Linked DNA regions of Homo sapiens: all the other regions are linked to region 3. Evidence: promoter capture Hi-C in human tissues and cell types (Jung and others, 2019). All regions are on one chromosome and are shown on one strand. The core of a region is centred on a gene start or on the middle of the fragment in contact, and the rest is flanking DNA. Distances in the headings are between cores, read along the strand shown. Region 1 holds the start of MACROD1 (mono-ADP ribosylhydrolase 1). Region 2 has its middle 9.9 kb from the start of SLC22A11. Region 3 holds the start of RPS6KA4 (ribosomal protein S6 kinase A4).

Region 1 (3,215 bases), core at 147-2,646, 190 kb after region 3:
AGTGCAGTGGTGCCATCATGGCTCTCTGTAGCCTTGAACCCTTGGGCTCAAGTGTTTGCCTGCCTCAGCCTCTGGAGTAGCTGGGACTAGAGGTGAGTGTCTACCACCATACCAGGGTAATTTTTTTGTGTGGGGGCGGGTAGAGATGAGGGGGTCTCACTATATTGCCCAGGCTGGTCTTGAACTCCTGGCCTCTAATAATCCTCTTGCCTCAGCCTCCCAAAGTGCTGGGATTACAGGTGTGAGCACTTATTCATTATTCATTATTACATTCATTATATTATTATAATGGCCCGGCCTGTATTCATTATATTTATCATAAAGTAATATTAATAGTACATAAAAATATATAAAAGTACTTAAAAATCCATCCTCGTGTTTTTTGTTTTGTTTTCTTTGAGACAGAGTCTCGTTCTGTCACCCAGGCTGGAGTGCAATGGCACGATCTCGGCTCACCGCAACCTCCGCCTTCCGGGTTCAAGTGATTCTCCTGCCTCAGCCTCCCGAGTAGCTGTAATTAACAGGCATGCACCACCACGCCTGCATAATTTTTGTATTTTTAGTAGAGACGGGGTTTCGCCATGTTGGCCAGGCAGGCCTCGAACTCCTGACCTCGTGATCCACCCAACTCGGCCTACCAAAGTGCTGGGATTACAGGCGTGAGCCACCGCGCCCGGCCGGTTTTTGTTTAAAAAAGAAAAGAAAAAAAAAAAAAAACACACAGACACACACAAAAACATCACCCCAATCCTTCCACCCTTGAACGCCACTTGAAGCCTAAGTTTCCTGCCTCCAAATTCCACTATTTCCACCCTCGACTCTCCTCCCCAGCTGTCCTAGATTCTGCTCCAGCTGAGCCTTGGCCCCGGGGCTGTTAGAAGGCAGAGGCTCTGGGGAGAAGTCCCCAAACCGGATTTACCCGTTCGTCGCACCTGTCCCTAGGAGGGCAGGCTGGGGTGTGGAGGCGGTGCCCTGCTGACCCGCGGGGAGAGAAGCCCGGGTCTCCCAGGCTGCAAAACGCTCGGCACTGCGGAAGCCGCGCCAGGCTCTCCCAGCTCGATACGCAGCGGCCGGCGCGCCTGCTCCGCCGCGGGGCCGAGCGGCAGAGGGGCCCGGGGCTGCGTGGAAGGCCCGGGGGCTTCAGCCCGTGCCGGGGAAGCCGACGCTCAGCCAACCAGAAAGTTAGAGGCGGCCGAGGTCTCGCGGAGGGGAGGCGCCTGGCGGCCACGGGAGAAGTCGAAGGGCTCAGGCGGGGCTCCATCCGCGACACTGGGAGCCCGGGCGGGCGCGCACGTGTGTATACGAGTGCGTGGGCCCATCCGGCGGCCCGGACTACAAGTTCCAGGGTGCCCAGCGGCGCTCCCGGGTTTTCTGGCCGCGCCTCCCGCTGGCTCCGAGCAGGTCGCCGCTGGCTGGCAGTCGCCACCCGGTCCCAGAGTAAATAAGGGAGAGACACTCCCGAGCGCCGTAAATAGAGTCCAAGTGGGCGGAGAGCCGTCCCGCGCCGCCCGCTCATGTCTCTACAGAGCCGACTGTCCGGCCGCCTGGCACAGCTGCGCGCGGCGGGGCAGCTGCTCGTCCCCCCGCGCCCCCGGCCCGGACACTTGGCGGGTGCCACGAGGACCCGCAGCAGCACGTGCGGTCCCCCGGCGTTCCTGGGCGTGTTCGGCCGCCGTGCGCGGACCTCGGCGGGAGTTGGGGCGTGGGGGGCGGCGGCGGTGGGGCGGACAGCCGGGGTGCGCACTTGGGCCCCCCTGGCCATGGCGGCGAAGGTGGACCTGAGCACCTCCACCGACTGGAAGGAGGCGAAATGTAAGTGTAAGCACGAGGGGGCGCGAGGGAGAGGGCGGCCTCACGTGGAGCTTCCCGGCTGGGCGGCCCCCAACGAGCGAGCAGCCCCTTCCACCCGAGAGACCTGGGGAAGTTGAGGCCCCATCTGCCCTGGAACGGACCCCTCCTCCCCATTGACAGCCCCCCCCGCCCCCGCGCGTGTTCCCAGCCCCACAGAACAATTCACTCCAGACCAGGTCCAAGTGTCCACGCAGGGGGCAGCGTGAGGAAGGCGGCCTTCCTTACCCCATTGGAATGGGTCACAGGGCACCCCAGAGATTGTGCAGGACCTACCAACTTCCTTCCCTGTGCAGGAGGGAAACTGAGGCCGAGTGCCACAGCTGGCTTCCCCAAGGTCACTCGGAGCTGGTGGCAAAGTGGAGGTTATGATCCCGGACTCTCCAAACTTTGCACAGTGTGGTTCTTAAGTGTTCGGGAATGGGGCTGAGGGAACAGCTCCGGGGCTGGCGTCCCACCTGGTGGGGCACGTAACCTCACAGAGTGACCTTCCTGGGCTGGCCTGTCCTGCCTCCACCCCACCCCAAGCCCGCACTCTGATGCCTTCCTGGGCACGTGGTCTGGCGCCCTTTTCCCCTTCTCGCTGGCCTCTGGCCACTTGTGAGCAGTTTGCTCATGCCAGGAACAGAGGTTAGAGGAGCAGGGCAGAGGTGGGGTCTTGTCCCTGTGACAACTGATGACACCCTTCAAGAATCACACCACTTCCTCTTGCTCCTGGAGGGGGCATGAGTCTGGGGCCTGGGGAGAGAGAGAACCCAAGCTGCCGCTACTGAGCCCCAAATAGCCCTGCCGGGCACCCAGCTGCCCCTGCCTTTCAGGGCCTGCCTCCTGGGATCCTGTGACTCTTCCCGGCTGGATCCCCTTTCAAAAGTGCAGGGAAGTGGCTAATTGGCTGGGCCTCCGTGGTGGAGTAGGTGTGGCCTCTGGGCTGGGCAGGCAGGATGGGGGGGTCCTGCGGTGTTAGGGGTGAAGAGAAGATGGCTTTCTCGGGACCAGAGGTGGAAATCAAAATGATTTACTCCTGACATGAATTGTGTGGCCTGCGCCAGGATCTAAAAGTGACGGCAGAAAGCACCGACTTTAGCCCGTGAGCAGATGGAGAACTTGTCAGGCACTTGGCCCTTGCCCCAGAACAGCAGGAGGAGTTTGGGGCTGGCAGAGACCCCTGGAGGGGGAGCCACTGTCCCCACAGAGACCCCTGCTCCCCTGAGCACTCTCTCAGAGGACAACAACCCAGGAGGGTGGGAAAGAGCTACGGAGACAAGGTGCCCAGGCACCTGCTCGAGGGCTGCCGCTGTTTTTAGGATCCAGCCCCCACAGCCCCACTCCTTGGTGCCAGGAAAGCAACCGGACCTTGTGATGGGGCT
Region 2 (3,274 bases), core at 87-2,586, 190 kb before region 3:
GGAGGTGAGGATGGGTGTTCCGGGAGCAAGAACAGCACATGCAAAGGCCCCAAGGCCAGACCAGGAAAGATGGGGGAGGAGGGTCTGATTACTAGGAGAATGTCTCAGGTGGATGAAAATGTAAGGTGGGCTCAGATGAGACAGGGCTACAGAGAGGAGAACCAGGAAGAGGCTTTTCCTGGCCTGAACGGGGCACAGACTGTGGAGATGGTGAGGAGAATGTGAATTCAATACATTTTAAAGAGGTGGGGAACAGGCACAGTGGCTCACGCCTGTAATCCCAGCACTTTGGGAGGCCAAGGCAGGCAGATCTCTTGAGGCCAGGAGTTCAAGACCAGCCTGGCCAACATGGTGAAACCCCATCTCTACTAAAAATACAAAAATTAGCTGGGCATGGTAGCACTCGCCTGTCCCAGCTACTTGGGAGGCTGTGGCAGGAGAATTGCTTGAATCTGGGAAGTGGAGGTTGCAGTGAGCCCTGATCGTGCCACTGCACTCCAGCCCAGAGGTGGATGGGCAGGGACTGCCTAGAGTGCCTCATGGTCCTAGCAAAGTCTCACCGGCTCTTGTGGCGATCTCAATGGCATGCACAGAGTTCCAGAACTTCAGAGCATCTCTTTTTGGTAAGGGGGCAGCATCCTGACCTCCACCCGCCGAAGCACACGCCTGTCCTGGTCACATGCTGGATTAACCTGTAAGCCTATTAACTATGGCTCAGCATCCTTCGCTACCTTGAAAGGAGCCCCAGAGCTCCCTGGTTAGGGAGACAGTTCCCAGCATGGTCCCGAGGATGGCCACATCTGACCTGGCCCTGAGCCACTGTCATGGGCAGCAGGGCATGACTCTCCAGTTGCCTGGAGACTTTACCTTGACCCTGAGTGACCTGAGAGAGCCAAGCCCGATGGCAGCAGTGACTGCTGCTGAGTCATCTGGCCCCCAAGACACCCAAGGGTCCCTGGGCACCCACCCTGTGTTAGCTTCCTGCGGAGGTCTCACTCAGTGCTCACGAGGACCCTACTACAAGCTCTGAAGCCCCAGGGCTGTGTGGACGGCTACAGAACATCATCTGACCCAGGCCTCCCCCAAGAACAGAGCCAATCCCCAAAATTCTGAAGAGAGGTCTTCCCTGACCAAGTCCACAGCTGCTGGGTTGTGTCCTGTCCAGGCAAAGCCACCTCCCAGCACTTTTCCTCTGGAGCAGCATGAAGGGCAGTGGGGGACCTGCAGCCCAGGCTGACCTGCAAACCGGCCTCCAGCCTGCCCCTGGGCCTGGGGTTGGGACAGGGCCTCTTTCAGAGGCCTCCGGAGCAGCAGTTCCTGGTGGGTTCCCACAGGTGCCCCCAGCACCCACAGGACAGCATCAGGACATGGCAGGAAGCTGGGGCTTCCCTCTACCCTTGCTACTCAAAGTGTGGTCCATGGACCAGCAGCATCAATGTCACTTGTGAGTTCTTTAGAAAGGCAGAATCTCAGATCCCAACCCAGACCTCCAGAATCAGAATCTGCATTTACTAAGAGCCCCAAGTGATCTGTGTGCCCACTGAAGTTTAAGACGCCCTGGCCTTGACCATTCTCCACAGCCACGACTATTCCACACCTTCTATCTCCTCGGAAGGGGTTTCCAAGAGGGACTTTATGTTTATTTCCATGGCAGCCTCTCCGTCGAAATATAAGCTCCTTGCAGATGGGAACGCATATCACTAAACCCCTTGGTGCCTGAGCCCTGCCTGCACACTGGAGGTGCCTACTCAGTGCTTGCTGAATAAGCGAGGGGATGTGTGTCACCATGCAGGCTGGCAGCGCGCCATGGCCAAGTCCATTCCTATCCTCTGCATCATCAGGCAATGGAGCAAGGAACGGAGTGGCACGTGAGAGCAAACAGACGTGCCGCCCCTGCCACAGCGCACTAGGATTTGTTCTTTGCGCAGACAACTGGAGAGGCAGAAGCCTGGGGGCATACGTTCTCCCCAGCCCCCCTTCCCACTCTTCCTGACATATGCGCCCTTGCCCTGGCGGCAGGTAGACTTCAGACCCTTCTCTTCATTGGTCTCAACCTAGCTACAGACTGAGTTCACTCAGCCACTTCTTTGCCAACTAAGGATCCTGCCCTTAAGGAACCTACTGGGTGACATCGCCCAAGAGGTGCAAGAACCCGAAGCTCTGGGTCACACAGGTCTCCTGGGTCAAACAGCTCTCTGTTTTCCCAGGGACATGGAGGGGCTCACGGTTCAGGATGGCTAGTGGGGCACTCATTTACCTCCTCCAACCAAATCCAAGTGGATCCAGAAAGGAAATAGTTTGGCAGTCCCAGAGCAGCATGGGAAAGGTGAGAAATGGAAAACTAGGGAAAGAATCTGCATAAGACATAAAGATCATGGGACAGATGGACAATGAAACCTCAGACCAAGGGACCTGCACCACATGCAGGAGGGAAAGGAGGCCCAAACACCTGAGCCTTCCTAGGAGGACAGCACTAGGTGAGAGGCTGCAGTGTGGGCACAGGCCAAGAACATCTGGGTAATTAACAGCATCAGGGTGAGCAGATTGACTGTGCCCCACCCTCCCTCCACCAAACACCACTTGGCATTGAATTCCATGTTTGCCTGGAGGTCAAGGTGCAAGAACAGCTAAATGGAGTTCTGAAACTGCATGGTAGGCCAGAGAAAAAGGGCAGCACCCCAGGCAACTTAAGGATCCCATGGGGAAGCAGAACCCTTTACTCAGAAAATCAGATCCACCAGTGCCTCCTGGCCACAGGCCTCTTTCACTTGCCCACACGTCACAATCACTGTAGACAGGGTTCTCCAGCACAAAGCTTTCATGCATGGCTAAGCCAACAGGAATTCCCACTTAGCCTGAGGAAGGACATTCTAGGAAACAATTTTGTCCATATCCCTCCCCCCACCATCTTCAAATATGAAGAGGCAACAAAGAAACACTAAAAATGCAAGAATCCAATGCACCAAAAGAGAGACACCAAACTCAACAAACAAAAGAACCAACACAGGAGGACGATGAAGTAATGCAGTAAACAGAAGAAAAAGGTAAAACCGCTGTAGTTTCTATTTCCAGGGAAATTTGAGAGGACATCAATTTTTTAAAAGAAATAGGTTCCCGAGAAAAGGAAATCTTTTCAGTTTTGGAAATTGTCAACTTGATGGGCAAATTCTGAAACCACTAATTAATAGATTGAATAATGAGGGGAATACAGTGACCTGGAAGTTCATGACAAAGGAGTTTCCTGGAACCCAGTGCAAAAGCACAAAGAGTTGAA
Region 3 (2,951 bases), core at 402-2,901:
GGAAAGCCCCTTCGAGGAGGTGCCAGGGGAGGGGACCCCACCAGGCAACGTTGAGGCTTCCTGCAAGGGGTCCAGGGGAAGCAGCTCCAATTCCCACCCAGCTCACCACTGGCCCCCCAGGAAGCCCAGGGGGAAGCCTGAGGCTGCCCTGCGTGCAGATTCCTTCCAAGGCACAGACCCAGTTTCCATAGCAACAGCCTGCGGCCAGGTCTTCACCCACCTTGTGCAGGTGTTCCAGGGCCAGCACGATCTCACCCCCATACACGCGCACCTCAGCCTCCTTGAAGTACTGGCGCTGGTAGAGGTGGGTGAACATCTCCCCGCCGCTCACATAGTCTGGGAGGTGCAGTGGAAGTCAGGAAGCAGCCCCGTCAGGTGGCCTCGCCTGCCCCCAGCCACCCCAACCCCGTTGGGATGTGGTGTGCGCTCACCCAGGATGAGGTGCAGCTTGGCATCCGTCTGGAAAGCGTAGTGCAGCGTGACCAGGAAGGGCGCCTGGCGCACCAGCTCCAGCACCGAGCGCTCGGTGCGCGTGTGCTCTTGCGTCTTGGCGCGCTGCACCAGCGCCGCCTTGCGCAGCACCTTCATGGCGTACAGCTTCCCCGCGTCGTGCCCGCCCGCCTTCCGCACCAGGAACACCTTGCCGTAGGCTGTGGGAGCAGCGAGTGGGTGGAGGGTGGGCTGTGAGCGGGAGATTGGTGCAGGCTTGGGGGGTGGGGGCGATGCCAACCCAGGAGGGTGTGCAAATGAGGCGAAGGAGCTGGGGCAACAGGCAGGTGTGCAAAAAGCTGGCAGAGCCTTCTAAGGAAAGGGTGTGCACACCCCGGGAGGGTGCCCAGCAAAACCAGGGAAAGGATGTGCAAACCAGGCTGGGGAGCATGCATCTCCAGGGGGCCTGCTGCGAGGCATGGGGGCGGGGCATATGCAAACCTGCGAGAGATCAGATGGATGTGAAAAGATGCCAGTGCAAGGAAGGGAGGCAGAGGTGTGCACCTGGCTGGGGAAGGGATGCGCAAACCAGCGCTGGGGCATTTGCAAAATGTGGGAGGGGGATCCCATATTGGAAGAAAGGGAGGAGCTATGCAAATCACTTGAGAGGGGCGCCAGTCCCCCTCCCCAGGGTGTTGGCAAATCCAGGGGGGTATGCACGCACAGGACCGTGGAGGGAGGAGTGATGTCAATGTGGAGTGCCCTGGAAGTGGGCATGCAAACTCTGGCGAGGCAGGGCGGGGCAGGCAAGGCAGGCTGTGCCGGGAAAGGGTGGGGGGCCTGCTCAGTGGCCTGGCCCAGGCCCAAGAGTGAGCAGGCAGGAGGTCAGGGGCACCGCGCCTGGGACGCCTGCCCGGTGGATGGGGGTCCTCACCTCCCGTGCCCAGCACCTTGAGCAGCTCGAAGTTCTCCACGCTCACCTTCTCCTCGTGCCCGGTCAGGTTGGCTGTGGGCACAGGGGGCGAATGAGCCCAGCCGGTCCATGACCCGTCCCGGCCTGCCCCGGGCAGCCGCAGTCAGGCCCCACACCCACCTTCTGTGATCCGCAGCTCCACGGCGCAGCTCTCATCGTCGTCCTCGTCCCCCATGGCGGGCGGGTCGCTGGGGCCCGCGCGGCTCGGGCTCCGGGCGGCGCCGGTTACATGGCGGCTCCGGCCGGGGCGGGCGCTTCCTGGTGCCGCCTCCGGGGCCGAGGCGGGCGCCGGCACCGCCTCCCGGCTCCCCGCCCTGCGCGGCCTGAGTCAGGCGGCTGGAACGTGACAGCGCCGGGCTGCCGGTGGGCGGCCGGCTGGGGCCGCCCTGTCTCCCGAGCCCCCAGGCCAGGCCTCAGGGCCGTGCGCTCCGGGACCTTACTCGACTCTCCCGGGAACTGGAAACACCCCGTGGGAGCCATCCCTGAGCCCGTGGGTAACCTGGAGCCTCTGGGGCATTAGTCCCCAAGCCAGGAATCTGCCCGGGAATGCCGGCTGCAGCCAGTGGCTGGAGGACATTAGGAGTCTGTGCCCCAAGGTGGGGGACGAGGTGCCTGGTGCTGGGCAGGCTGAGAGGGGGTCTGGATCCTGGAAGTCACCCAACTCTCAGGCAGTGGAGCCCACCCCACTCCATCGTCCTGGGGGTGGCCAGCAGGGCCCCTCTCCCCAGAGGACTGGCCTTTGCAAGGAGGAGCCTCATCACCAAGAGGGGGCTGGAGCCCGGCCTGGGACCCCATGGCAAGGAGAGGAGTGGCCAGTTTTCTGACCAGCTTTCTGTCGGGGGTGCCTGCAGAAGCACTTCAGCCCCCAGTCACCGTGCAGAGCCCACCAGGTGCCATGCGCACCTCACGTGTTCTGCTCCTGTTGTCTCCTAGCCTGGTGCAGTACCCAGCTTAGAGCCCTGAGCAGGCCTCAAGAAGAGATGTCAGTGCCACACGGGGCTGCCCCCTCTCCCCATGAGGCCCAGGGCCCCTGCTGACTGGTCCTCCTGAGCCCCTGCTCCGTCTTCTTCCTGCCTTTCCCTTCCTGACCACCAATGGGGCCACCTAGCAGAGTGGGACAGCCATGAGGCCCCACACCCTGAGGCCGGTGGGAGGGGCTCTCAGCTCCTCTGCCAGCTGGAGAGGCCAGGGTGTCCACCCCACGCCCCTGTCCTGTGAAGCCCTGGCTGAGAGGAGGAGGAACTCAAGCTGCTGCAGGTCACACCTGGGAGGCCGGACGGACCGTCCCTCCCAGCTCTGCACCCCCCAAGTTCAGGCTGCCTTATCTCAGCCCTGGGCAGCTCCACCCTCCCCTGGGTGGCCCCAGGTACCCTGACTCACATCCTGCACCCCAGCCGAATTGCCCCGCCTCTCAGGCATCAGGCTAGAGGCCCTGGTCAGAGAGCCAGCGTCCCTCCCACCTCTCCTGGCAACCCCTGGCATTAAGTGATGCCCCGCCAGGCTGAGAACTCCCTGGGGAGGGGGCTCAACCTCAAGGAGGGAGGGGAGA

Evidence for each region. Contacts are between HindIII fragments. The study calls those that stand out against the background at their distance.
Region 1: a contact is called between the fragment with the promoter of MACROD1 here and the fragment with the promoter of RPS6KA4 in region 3, in 1 of the 25 tissues and cell types used here (spleen).
Region 2: a fragment that was not itself captured here is called in contact with the fragment with the promoter of RPS6KA4 in region 3 in 1 of the 25 tissues and cell types used here (dorsolateral prefrontal cortex).

What each region holds. Positions count from the first base shown.
Region 1 is chr11:64,164,294-64,167,508 of GRCh38, reverse strand. It overlaps MACROD1 (mono-ADP ribosylhydrolase 1), which reads left to right and starts at 1,396. Exons shown (of 11, transcript NM_014067.4): 1 at 1,396-1,812. The coding sequence starts at 1,515. LOC105369339 (a long non-coding RNA gene) reads right to left here and starts at 1,271. Exons shown (of 3, transcript XR_950187.3): 1 at 920-1,271. RefSeq lists silencers at 1,010-1,269, 1,530-1,609, 1,740-1,839 and an enhancer at 1,377-1,877. The HindIII fragment of the contact is 20,905 bases long and covers 1-3,215 here.
Region 2 is chr11:64,544,372-64,547,645 of GRCh38, reverse strand. No RefSeq gene overlaps it. Among named protein-coding and RNA genes, the nearest start is that of SLC22A11, 9.9 kb to the left of the region's middle. The HindIII fragment of the contact is 7,372 bases long and covers 1-3,274 here.
Region 3 is chr11:64,357,862-64,360,812 of GRCh38, reverse strand. RPS6KA4 (ribosomal protein S6 kinase A4) reads right to left here and starts at 1,651. Exons shown (of 17, transcript NM_003942.3): 1 at 1,523-1,651; 2 at 1,364-1,435; 3 at 432-650; 4 at 221-336. The coding sequence starts at 1,577. RefSeq lists enhancers at 256-365, 1,099-1,626 and a silencer at 1,376-1,865. The HindIII fragment of the contact is 21,233 bases long and covers 1-2,951 here.